3 separate regions of the Homo sapiens genome follow, and all the other regions are linked to region 2. The links are contacts of gene promoters, found by promoter capture Hi-C in human tissues and cell types (Jung and others, 2019). All regions are on one chromosome and are shown on one strand. Each heading gives the region's core, a stretch centred on a gene start or on the middle of the fragment in contact. The rest is flanking DNA. Distances are from core to core; before and after follow the strand shown.

Region 1 (4,104 bases), core at 1,353-3,852, 150 kb after region 2:
AGATGTTCCCAGAGGCTCTGAGGATCATTTGGGGGTGAGGGCTGGGGTCACTGGCAGGAGCCCAGGAGTGAGGATCACTATGTCAAAGTCATTCCAGCTGTATCCACAGGCTGGCACTGCCAGGAGAAAGGCCTAAGGTGTGCAGCCATTCCTGCTTTTTTTGTCCTTGTACGAAACTTGAAAAAAATTACAAAAATGGCACATGCCTCTGATCACAAAACAAACAATGCAGAGGTGTATAAAGAAAAGATTGGTTAAGCCTAGTGGCTCACACCTGTAATCCCACATTTTCGGAGTGAGACTCCATCTCTTAAAAAATTATAAGAAAAAAAGAAAAGAAAACAGTCATTTTCCCTCTCCAAATATCCACTTCCATGCTTGATACACTTTCGGGGGGAGGGGTGGGAGTGAGGGTTGAGGGGTGTTTGAGTTACTCTGATTCCTCTGGGAGCCACATCTGTGTTACTGCCCCCTCCCCAAAACACACACATGCCTGTCTCCCACAGATGGTCCCAAAAGAACTATGGTCCTCACCCAGGCCCCAGGGACTGGTCTTAGGGTGGCAGGTAACCCAAACAAGACCCATCAGAGTCTTGGCCTGAAATTTTGTAAACTGGCTACAAGAGAGGGTCAGGTCTCAAAGCCAGGTGGATGCAAGGTGAGAGCTGCCACAGCCAGGGACCTGTGATAAGGAGGAAGCTGGTCTAATCTGTAGAAAGAAGGAACGAGAGCTGGACAAGACCCCAGTGACGTCAGGCTCCTTTTGTCCCGTCCCTTTCTGCAGTTTGGCTGTATGTGCTAATAAGTTCCCCTTTTGTCTGCCAAAATTGGTTTTAATTAGGCTTCTGGTGCTGGTAGCCAATAGAATCCTAAGTGATTTGTCTTCCCCTCTGTAAAATAAGGGGACCGGACAGGCTGGTCTATGGGGGGCCTGTTGGCGCTGGCAATGGGGGGCCCTTGGCCCTATGCGCTGGGATGAGCCGGGATCTGACCTGACTGTAGTTGTCTCAGCTCAGCGGTAAAGGGACCTCAACATGTACCTCCCGCTTCAATGTCAGGCATCCTGGCTCAGTCTTGGGATACAGCATTTAGGAGGTGGGGCCAAATGAATGAAAGGCATGTGGCTGCCTCCTCTGGCTCTCTCCTGCCATTATCTGAGCTACTGCTGGGCTGGCCAGCTCGGGGAGGGGCAGGGAAGCAGGCACAAAACCAAAGCCTCTGCTGAGGAGAGAATCTGCATGTGTCACTGCAGCAAAACCTCACAAGCCCCCTATGAGGCTATCACCTTCCCATTATAGAGACAAGGATGCTGAGGCACAGCAAGCTCCCTTGTAATTTGCTTAAGGTCACACAGTTTGGACAGGTGGAGCCAGGATTCAGACTCATTTCTTTCAGAAGCCTTCACTTCACGGCAGGCTCTGCTGCTCTTTGGCAAGGACCCTGACTCCCTCCAGGGCCTCTAGCCAGACCCAGGGATGGAAAAGAGCATCCTCTCTTGCCCAGTGGCTGGGCCACCAGGGACCCTGAAGCTGTGCCTCCGTGGATGCTGGCATGAAGCCTCAAGCCAAAAGGCTCAAGGGCAGGGCTCTCAGCCACATCTACCGCCATGTGGCCTCAAGCAGAGGGCTTCAAGAACCCCATTCCCTCATCTGTAAAACAGGGATAAAATGCCTCCGTTGCTTCCCTCGCAGTCAGAGGGGCCCTCAAGTGGGGAAGCCTGAAGACACTGTCCAGCTTACTATCTACCAGTCATCAGACTTTCGTGTGCCTTTAGGAAGAGTTGTGCCCTCTTCCACCCTGGGCCAGACTCATGTCAAGGGCTGGGGCCAGCCAGGTTGCTGCCACTTTAACTCTGTCCCAGGGACCAGGGTGGCAGATAACAGTTAACAGAGGAGGTAACAGTCCAATTGCCACCTCCAATTCCCACCTTTTTTTTTTTTTTTTTTTTTTTGAGATGGAGTCTCCCTCTGTCACCCAGGTTGGAGTGGAACGGCACGATCTTGGCTCACTGCAACCTCCGCCTCCCGTGTTCAAGTGATTCTCCTGCCTCAGCCTCCCGAGTAGCTGGGACTACAGGTATGCACCACCATGCCCAGCTAATGTTTTTGTATTTTTATTAGAGACAGGGTTTCACCGTGTTGGCCAGGATGGCCTCGATCTCCTGACCTCATGATCTGCCCACCTTGACCTCCCAAAGTGCTGGGATCACAGGCATGAGCCACCATGCCCAGCCGCCTTTTTTAGTGACCATTTTTTTTTGTCTGTTTACCAAAAAAAGCAAAAAATCCTTCCCACCAAAAGATTAAATGTGGAAATTTTAGAAAATACATTTAAATCTATATACAGCTGATTCTCATGATTCAGCATTTGTGAATTTGCCTACTCTCTAATATTTATTTGTAATCCCTAAATCCATAATCATGGCGTTTTCAGTCATTGGAGGGCATTTGCAGAGTGGCCATTTGTGAGGTTGAACAAGGGGACGCTCTGTCTTCTTGTCTCAGCTCTTGTGCTGTAAACAAATGTTCTTTCTGCAGTCTATTCCAGATCACGCTTTTCACATATTTGTGTTTTTTGTTGGTGGTTTTGCTGTGTAACACGGCCTCCCAGCTCAGTGCTGAAGTGCTCTCTACTGTTCCCAAGCACAAGTAGGCTGTGATGTGCCTTACAGATAAAATACGTATGTTAGATTAGCTTCAATCAGGCATGAGTTATAGCACTGTTGGCTGTGAGTTCAATGTTAATGAATCAACAGTATGTAGTAAATAAGGTGCCTTTAAATGGAAACACACATAACACAAGGTTATGTAGTGATCATTTGATTGAAATGTTGTGAGCAGAGGCTCACAGGAACCTAAATGTGTATTTCCTCTAGGAACGATGCTTCCATATTTGCTCATTCAATGGTCATGGTGACTTTATAGACCATAACTACAGCCAATAATGAGAACTGACTGTTTATTCATCAGTCAGGGATGTCCATGATATTCAGCTGAATGATAGCTTTCAGTTACAGAATACTGGGTATTGGATGATCCCATATTTGAAATAAGTAAATAAATAAAGTTTTTTAAAAAGGCCTCTGGGTCAGGTGCAGTGGCTCATGCCCATAATCTCAGCACTTTGGGAGGCCAAGGCAGGAGGATCACTTGAGGTCAGGAGTTTGAGACCAGCCTAGCCAACATGGTGAAACCCCATCTCTACTAAAAATACAAAAATTAGCTGGGTGTGATGGCACACGCCTGTAGTCCTAGCTACTTGGGAGGCTGAGTCACGAGAATCCCTTGAACCTGGGAGGTGGAGGTTGCAGTGAGCAAAGATCATGCCACTTCCCTCCAGCCTGGGTGACAGAGCAAGACTTCGGCTCAATTAAAAAAAAAAAAAAAGTCTTCTGTTTGTGTGTTTTGATGTTTGTTGGAACATGGAGAAAAGAGTGAAGAGATTCTACCTGGCTTTCCTGGGTGGAGGGGGAGCAATGAGAGGGGGAGATGATTAAAGCTTTTCTGTTCTTTTCTTTTTTCCCTTGAGACAGGGTCTTGCTCTGCTGCCCAGGCTGGAGTGTAGTCCAGCTATGGTGCAATCATAGCTCACTGCAGCCTCAACCTCCTGGGCTCAAGCAATTCTCCCACCTCAGCCTCCCAAGTAGCTGGGACTACAGGCGCATGCCACCACACCTGGCTAATTTTTTTATATTTTGTAGAAATGGGGGTCTCATTCTGTTTCCCAGGCTAGTCTCAAACTCTTGGCCTCAAATTATTCTCCTGACTCAGCCTCCCAAAGTGCTGGAATTACGAGTGTGATCCCACTGCACTGCCCCTTTCCTTTTTTTAAAAGTTTTAGTTTAATATGCTATTTAAAATATATATATTATATAAAAATAATGTATTCTTTTTGAACAGGTAACAAGTTCACAATTCAAAACTGGAAAGCCACAACAGGATTTAAGTCAGAGTCTCCCCCTTACCATGTCCCGCCACCTGGAGGCATCAATGGTGTCAGTTTCTTGTGTTTCTAGGAAGGGATGGAGACTTTGGAGCTCCCCTCAAGAGTTTCAGGGTGGAGGTGAGGCCATGGAGGTGATGAAGAGCCAGAGTTTGCTGCTTG
Region 2 (4,337 bases), core at 395-2,894:
GCAAGATAGGGAGACCCCATCTCTACAAAAAAAAAAAACTTAGCCGGGCGCGGTGGCGCACGCCTATAGTCCCAGCTACTCAGGAGGCTGAGGCCAGAGAATGGTGTGAACCCGGGAGGCGGAGCTTGCAGTGAGCCGAGATCACCCCACTGCACTCCAGCCTGGGCAACAGAGCGAGACCTGTCTCAAAAAAAAAAAAAAAAAAAAAAAAAAAATTAGGTGGGCCTGGTGGCACATGCCTGTGGTTTCAGCTAATTGGGAGGCTGAAGTGGGAGGATCACTTGAGCCCAGGAGGTCAAGGCAGCAGTGAACCATGATCAAGCCACTGCCCTCCAGCCTGGGCATCAGAGCAAGACCCTATCTCAAAAAAATAAATAAATAAAAAAGAAAAAGAAAAAGAAAAAAAGTTGTAGAAGTATAATATGGGAAGGTGTTTACAAAATATGAAAGGAGTTAAAAACGCTATAAATTAGTATGATCGTTTGAAACACTCCCCCTGCTCCCCTCCAGCCCCTCTTCAATGAGCTAGGAAAAGACTAGAGTACATACACCAAAATATTAGTATTGCCTCTGGGTGGTGGGATTATGAGTGATTTTTACTTTCTTCTTTGTGTTTTTCTGTATTTTCCAAATCTCTACAATTATCTCTGTATTTTTAAAGAAAAATTAGAAAATCAAATTTATTTTGACAATATACAGACTAAGCAGACAATATACAGACTGTTATACTGCTGAACAGAGAAACATGGGGATCATTGGCCTCCCAGTGAGATCAGAAGGAATTCCCAGACCTAAATATTATGGTTAACTCATGTCAAGATCACAGATCTTAACCAGAAGACAGTTCCTGACTATGGACCAATGAACTTGTGAAAAACTCTTAAATTGTTCTTACAATCCTTTATACGTGTTTTTTTTCTTAAAACCCTTGTATTTTGGAATAATTTTAGATTTACAGAAAAGTGGCAAAGACAGTCCCCATATAGCCCTTACTCAGTTTATCCTACTGTTAACATTTTACATAACCATGACATTTGTCCCAACTAAGAAAACAACATGGGAACGTCACTATTAACTAATTTTCAGGCTTTATTTGGATTTTACCAGTTTTCCAATTAACATCCTTTTTCTGTTCCAGGGTCAAGTCTGGGGTAGCACATCACAGATGTCTCCCCAGGCCGCTCTGTTGTGTGACAGTGTCCCAAACATTCCTTGTTTCTCATGTGCCCTGTATGAATTTCATAATCAGAAAAAGAAAGGACAGATGATGATGCAGATGATGATGGCAGATGATGATGATGTTGATGATGATGACTTAGGTCTGGGAATTCCTTCTGATCTCACTGGGAGGCCAATGATCCCCGTGTTTCTCTGTTCAGCAGAACAAAAGGAGAAAGGCCCCAGTATCAACGGGACACACAGAATTTGGGGCACCCTGATCCTCCTGCCCACTGCCTTAGCCTCTGCTCCTGCCGCTGTCCCCCAGCCCGACGCGGGGAATCTTTTGGGGCCCTCGGCTTGGGTTGGGCCCCTGCCAGTTGGGCGAGCGCGCGGGCGGTGCCCGAGTCAGCTGCTCCGTGCCCCACGTGGCCGCCCCGCCCCCCTGCCCGGGTCTCAAAAGCCCCGCCGGCCTCCGAGCGTCCGAACCGCCCGCTGCCAGCCCGGCCAGGCACCCCTGCAGCATGGCCTGGAACACCAACCTCCGCTGGCGGCTGCCGCTCACCTGCCTGCTCCTGCAGGTGATTATGGTGATTCTCTTCGGGGTGTTCGTGCGCTACGACTTCGAGGCCGACGCCCACTGGTGGTCAGAGAGGACGCACAAGAACTTGAGCGACATGGAGAACGAATTCTACTATCGCTACCCAAGTAAGTCTCGCCGCCTGCAGGCCCAGCGGAGGCATATCCGCGCCGGTCCCCACCTGGCCAAGGGCTCGGCCCAGAGCTGGGCAGAGGAGGGGATCTACCCTGCAGCCGCGGACTCCGCATCTCGCCGGCCTCTGCAGGGCATGCGTGGGAAATTGTCAGATGTGCACAAACTCCTTTTCCCCGTGAAAAACTAGTAGGGAAAACACCGGGATGAGGTTTTTATTTGACCGCCCTCCCAGCCGTCAGAGCCCCCCAACATCCCTGTCAGAGAGCCCTGCTTGGTATACTAAGAAGATCCGAGTCCTCTCGCCCCATTACCAACCAGTGGATGACCTGGCTCCCTTGTCCAGAGGAGCGCTTACTCCAAATAAGCGCCAGCCCTGCTGTGGGCAGAGGTGTTGTGGGACCACTGGTGGGCCAGGAGGCCAGGACACCCACCCCCTTTTAGCTTGGAGAGGGAAAACAAGCGCCCCTGAATCTTCTGGTGTCAGCGGTGCTGTGGTTAAGAGCATGACCCTACAATCACACACCTCCCTTTCTCTCATGCTCTCGTGGCTCTTGCCACAAACCAGGTGGCTGGCCTCAGGCAAATGCCAACCTTCCTAAACCTCAATTTCCTCATCTACAGAATGAAGATAATGGTAGGACCTCCTTCACAGGGGTTGGGGTGAGGCTGTGGCGAGGAAGTGCATGTAAAGCTCTGGCAGAGTTGGGGTGGGATCCTTTCTTCATAATGGAGCAATTGCTACAAGAGCACCAAACACAGGTGCCCTAGGACTCAGGAGCAGGGAGAGCTAGCCCAAGGTCACTCTGAGCTGCCCGACCTCTGGACTCCCAGCCTGGGGCTCTTCCCAAAATCAGAATGCCCTTGTACTTTCTGATTTTCCACTCCATCCGCCATCAGCCAATGAAAATTATTCTAGCCGGTGGTGTTCATGTAGTCATTGACTGTTAGCTTTGAAAGGGACCCTAAAGCCCCTCTCCAGCAGCCGCCTATATCAACTGGTATTCCCTCCACACCTTAGACATTCTCGGCAACAGGGGATTCTCTATCTCCAAGAAAACAACTGCACACTTTCAGAATGGCAGCCTGCATGAAAAAAGACTGCGTTTGGGGGGCTGCAGGCTTGGTGGGAGCCAGCCATATTAAGTGGCTGCCAAAAAGTTAGGGCTATCATGGGCTGCATTTAATAGTTACTTGGTGCCTAGAAGGGAAGTAACAGATAAGGGGTGCGCCCCCTGCTGGGGAGACCACAGTTTCTCCTGGGCTCCATTTAGGGCTGTTTTTTAAAAGATATCTTAGACAGCTGCAGCCTTGGGATTCAGGCTCCAAATCCACTGTTCACATTGTCCACCTTTCCTCTCCTCAAGGGGGGGACTTTCCAGCAAACAGTGAGGCAGGCAAGCTTGAGACCCTCCTTTACCTGTTCTTCTCCCTCCCTCCCGCACTTGCTTCCCACTTGACCCCAGAGCATAAGGGGCAAGAACTCCCATGGGCGTTCACAGGTCCTCAATGTGTCTGGGGAGTGGAGGACCTCAAGACCTTAAATAGGCTGGGTGCGATGGCTCACACCTGTAATCCCAGCATACTTTGGGAGGCTGAGGTGGGAGGATCGCTTGAGCTTGGGAGTTTGAAGCTACAGTGAGCTATGACAGCACCACTGCACTCCAGCCTAGGTGACAGAGTGAATCTCTATCTCTCTCCCTTTCAAAAAAAAAAAAAAGAAAGAAATGAGAGAGAGAGAGAGAGACCCTATAATAGGAGCTGCAGAACCTCACCAGTGGGGAGGTACAGTCCTTACATCTCCCCAGCTCTTATCCTCCTCGCACCACACTTGCCCACCCACCTTTCACACCCCAGGTTAATGTGTTCATGCAACAAGTGCTTATCTGTAGTGTGATCATACAATTTATCATCATCAGAGGACACCTCTGAGAGTGAAGGTGGTGCTGGTAGTAATTTGCTGGGACCCATGGATAAGCCATGACTGTCCTGGCAAATCAGGGCTATGGTCACTCTGGATAAATAAGTTGAATATCCTGGGTCTCTGTCCCCAGACTTTTTGGAAGCAGAGAGGGGCACCGTGGCACCCAGGGCCTCAGTGGGACCAAGTGCTCTGAGCAGAAGTGATCTGTGATGGCTTCCTGGGAAGTGGTGGATGGTGAGGAGGGGAGAAGCCGAGCAGCCAAGGGGGCCACTAAAAGGGGGTGGTGTTGCGAGGAGGGGCAGTGGTTCTGTGTGGCCCAAGAGTAGGGTTTGTGAAAGGGATGGGGTAAGGATGCTAACAGGGGGAGAGCCCCAGCATCAAGGAGGGCCTTGAGTTTCCCCTGCTAGTTCTCCTGGAGAGCTCTTGGCCAATGGAGCAGGAAGCAACAGAGGAGAGGGGTATAGGGGAAGAATCTTGGCAAGAAGTAGTGGCCACCCCTCCAACCGCACGTGCATTCTCTCCTTTAATCATCACCACCACCTG
Region 3 (4,353 bases), core at 686-3,185, 130 kb after region 2:
AGATCTGTTTCCTCTCATGTAAAAGGGTGAGGGGATGGGGGTCAGGGCTGGGTGGTGGTGCCAGTTCCTTTCAGCCTGTCTATCATAGCACTCACATACCCATATACTTAGAAAGCCCCCCTACCAATCGGGGAGTCTGAGCCTACCTTTCTTCCTTTCTTCCCTGAAGCCGGGCAGGGTCCCTTCCTTGGTCTACAGCCACTCGCTGGGGAGCTTGGGAGGTTTCCCAAGCTACAGGGGCCCTGAGCTTCAGGACAAGCCAAGGCATCAGGGTGGAAAGTGACCTGAAGGCAGATGAGAAACTCGAGAGGGACCCTAGCACTGTGTGGGGCCGGGACCCCCACGCACTGAGCAGGGGCAAGCCCCACTCCCTGAGCCCAGTTAAGAGGGGCTGGGAGCCTGAGTGGCCGGGTGTGCTGCATTGGGTTGCCATGGGAACGAATTCAGATTTCCCCCAATTGCTTTTTTATTTGCTAGACATTGTAATACATCTTATGTCGTGACTTCTTGGGGCAGGGAGGAGGGGGAGCTCTGGGAGCTTGCCTGCACCTTAACCTCGCGGGAAGTTGGGGAGGCTTGGGCAGGAGCAGCCCGGTCGGGGCTGGCGTAGAGGTAGCGGGAGACTGAGCTCGGTTCCTCCCGCCCACCCGCCGGCTCTTGGTTTGTATGCAGGGCAGGGCCGACCCGTCGGGGAGGGAGGCCCCTGCCCTGGCCCCTTGCCATTGAGCGCACTCCCCGCCAGTTCTGCTCCGCTTCACGCTGCACACAGACCCCCCAACTGCACACAAAGGCAGCTGCCAGAGCCCGTGAAAAGTGATCAAATTATCAAGAACTTGACCTCACCGAGGGGCGAAGCTCCGGCAACCCCCCAGCCGTATGCTAATGGCGCTCAGGGGCTGACTCGTCGAATAATTCGATAAAGGCCGCATTGTTAGCGGCAGGGCAGCCCCCAGCCCACCCCATTCACTCCCTCCACCCACCCCCTACCGACCGCTGTCTCTCTCCCATCGCATTTGCATCCCAAAATCCCCGTCCACGGCTCCGGGAGCGGATTGTTCCAGCCTGATTTATGGGGTGAAGGCGAAGGCTGGCGCCTTCCCCTTCCAGCGACCCCTCTGCAACCCCAACCCCCTCCCTCTCCCCGGCCCGCTCCACTTTGGGGTTCCTGCTCCGGCGCTGGGGGATAGGGGTGGGGGACCAGGAAAGAGGAGGACTGGGGGAAAGCTGGCACTGCAAGTGTCCCCAGAGAGAGAGCCGAGGTCAGGTACCTGGTCGGGGCGCGGCCGCTCCGTCGAGCTGGAGTCCGCTGGGCCGGCGCTGGGCTCCTCTCGGCTCCTCTGGCTCTTGCGGGCCGGGCCGGGGCGGTCGGTGGGGCGGGCGCTCGCACGCAGAAGTTGTGAGAATCATTTCTACTTTCGGTTATCTAGCTTTATGACGGCTCTGTGGCACTCATACAGCTAGATAACCAAAGAGAGAAACGGGCCTCCCTTAGCCAGTGCCGCTGCCGCGCCGTGGGCTCCACGTGCTGCTGCCTGCCGAGCGCGGGAGCCTGAGCGGACGCCGTGCCCGGATCCTGGGGCGCACGCGGAGAGCCAGAGGGGATGGACAGACACACGCACACGCTGACTCCCGCCACCTAGGCCCGCAGCCCCCGCCCAGTTCCCTTCCTCCCTCGCCCTCCCGGCGCATTTCTCCCCTGCTCCCCGTTCCGTGCGTCCTGGCACCGGCGCTGCCGGCCTGCCTCGACGGCGTCCCGGGGCTCACGTAGGGCACCCGCGCGGAGCGCTTAGAGAGCCTCGAGCGCCCCGGCCGCCCCCAGCGCACTGGACCGCCGGCCCTCCTCTCGCAGGCTAATCGCCCCGCGGGGAAGTGACGTCAGTCCAGGGATCGGCCAATCACAGGCTCCCATTCAAATCCCAGCCCCCTTCCCGCGCTCCGCACCACCCAGCCTTACAATGGCCTCGGCGTTCACGGCTTCCCCGCCCCGAGGGCAAGGAAGCGCACCCTCTGCCCTCAGAAGCCTCAGGGCTGCGCACCGTCTGATCTTTCACCCAAACTCCTCCGTCTTCCTCCCAGGGCCCAGGGAGCCCAGTACCCACTGCGGACCATCAGAGTTTGGGAGACAAGAATGCTCGAGTGACAAGGTTTAGGGACGCGTGTGATAGGACGTGGCGATCTCCACAGGAGGGCCGAGAGCGCTCACGGAGAGGCCGAGAGCAGAAGCCATTTCACCTTTAACTTCTCTCTTCCTTTCCCCATGCCCAGCACTTGCAGTAGATCTAGCCCACGCGGCAGAGACCAGGGATTGGAGGAAGAATTAAGTGTCCCGGTGAGCGCAGGTCGGTGTCCCACCCATAACACCTGGCACTCAGAGGTTCCTCAGCTATGCTCCACTTGGGCGAGGCCCTGGCCTGGGCCCTGAGTACCAAGCTGCTAGGTCCCTTCTCTCTCTCGGTTCCTAGACACACTAGGAGTGTAAAACCGATTGTGCCAAGCACCTTGGAGAAGTCCTAGGCTCTCTCTTGGCTCCTGGTTAAATTCATATTTCACCAAAAATTAAAGCACAAAGCCATGCCTCCACTCTCCTTCTTCAGCTCTCAGCACACACCTGGCTACTCACTCCAAGTAGCCGCAACAGTGGAAAGGGACTGCCACCTTGGGTCTCCCGGAATCACCCCTAAACTGAGCTGGCAGCTGAATTGGTGGTACCATTGCAGCCTTCCAGATGTGAGTGGCCTATGGGTACCACTTCGTGCTCATGCCAGCCATCACCCCCTTCTTCCTTGCTGCTGTGGCTACCCTCCAGCCTTGAGCCCTATGATTCACCTCCGCCTGTCAGCCATCCCCAAGATGCAAAGGATTCAGTATGAAAAATGCAATATCTTTGCTCCTAGATACCCCCAGAAAAATCTTAAGCTCAACAGCTAGGGAGAGATTTTATGTGGGACTGGGCAAGTGGATTCCCAGATTCCAGCAGTCAATACACGGGAGTCACAGAGACTCTCACTGCTGCTGTCTACAGTGAGCACTGTGGGGTTAGGTGGAGGTACCCGTGCAGATTCATTTTAGTGGGGTCTGGGGCACTGGGCCACTCTGAGCCAGGTAAAACCCTTGCAGGATGGGTTGGAAAGAAGGGGCCAAAAGTGGATGGTTTGGAAAAGATTTCATGATTTTACTAAAAATCTCTTCCTTCCATACACTCCCCTAAAAATGACACATGTGGATTTTGTCAAGTTCTGGATTTTGTCAAATGCCTCTTTCCCCATTGCTTGTCTGTGGTTTGTTCTAATTTCATCCCATCTCTAAATCCGAAGCAGGTGACATCCTGCTCTCATCCCAGCCAGCTTGTGACCAACCAAATCTGCTATGTACATGTTTCCCTCGAAATCCCACTTCGCAGACACATTCCTTTTTCCAGAAGGTGAACAAGGGCTGGACAGCTGAACCAGCAGAGGAACAGAGAGGCCAGCCACGGTTCAGGAAGGAAGCTCTGAATTTGGGCCCGAGACAGTTAATTCCATGAATTTCCATAATTGGGAGGCGCCCCTTGCTTCCCCTCCTCCTGCAGCTCCAGGAACCTGCACCCTCTTCCCTTCTTGATGTGTGTGTGGGCGGCCTTCTGAGCCCTAGTCCTTTCCGGGCCACCCAGGGGTGGGAAGGGTGGGGCTGCGGAGGCAGGGAGGGGCCCAGAAGCATGTTTCACCTGAGAGAGAGGGAAGAAAGAGAGGAAGCGAGGGGGAAGAGGGAGCGAGGAACGAGCCCCTCGGAGTGTGATTTAAGCAGGATGCTGCACAAAATGGCTCCTCAGCGAGACTCGCGGTAACCGCGCGCGGAGGCCGGCCTGCAAGCCTAGGGCGGGTTGGGGCTTTGGGAGAAAGAATTAAAAGCCTGATTTCGATTCAGTTCAGATGCAGGAGGCCACTGTCATCAGAGCCACATCTCTACTGTCTTTTTGGGAAATCGAGTCCCTTCTTGGGAGCAGGTGAGGCTGACCAGGGGGAGGCTCCCACACCCTGCTTGAGTGAGACCGGCCCCAGAATCAGTGCCTCCTCCATCTCACTGTAGCCCCACTCCCAGGAAGAAGGCCACAGAAAGACCGAGCCTCAAGGCCATAGGCTGCTGAGAGGAGGCTGTTCCGGTGGGTCAAGGCAGCTGCAGTCTCCGTGGGTTGGCAGCCGGCTTCCACACACAGCTTAACAGGAGCCCGGGAAGCCATCCAGGTCGACACCAGGCAGAAGCGCATTGTGTGGGCTGGGCACTGCCAGCTGAGGCTGGCAGACTGCTGGGCAGGCCAATTCAGAGACCAAGTGGGGAGAACCTGACCAGCCACCAGCATTGACCCAGATTGCCCCT

The links. Contacts are between HindIII fragments. The study calls those that stand out against the background at their distance.
Region 1: a contact is called between a fragment that was not itself captured here and the fragment with the promoter of RHCG in region 2, in 1 of the 25 tissues and cell types used here (dorsolateral prefrontal cortex).
Region 3: a fragment that was not itself captured here is called in contact with the fragment with the promoter of RHCG in region 2 in 2 of the 25 tissues and cell types used here (IMR-90 fibroblasts and aorta).

Annotation. Positions count from the first base shown.
Region 1 is chr15:89,343,703-89,347,806 of GRCh38, reverse strand. No RefSeq gene overlaps it. Among named protein-coding and RNA genes, the nearest start is that of TRR-TCG1-1, 11 kb to the right of the region's middle. The HindIII fragment of the contact is 7,036 bases long and covers 1-4,104 here.
Region 2 is chr15:89,493,890-89,498,226 of GRCh38, reverse strand. It overlaps RHCG (Rh family C glycoprotein), which reads left to right and starts at 1,644. Exons shown (of 11, transcript NM_016321.3): 1 at 1,644-1,866. The coding sequence starts at 1,683. The HindIII fragment of the contact is 31,959 bases long and covers 1-4,337 here.
Region 3 is chr15:89,365,151-89,369,503 of GRCh38, reverse strand. All of the region lies in intron 1 of MIR9-3HG (MIR9-3 host gene), which reads right to left. It overlaps MIR9-3 (microRNA 9-3), which reads right to left and starts at 1,487; the gene lies at 1,398-1,487. RefSeq lists an enhancer at 1,267-1,880. The HindIII fragment of the contact is 9,312 bases long and covers 1-4,353 here.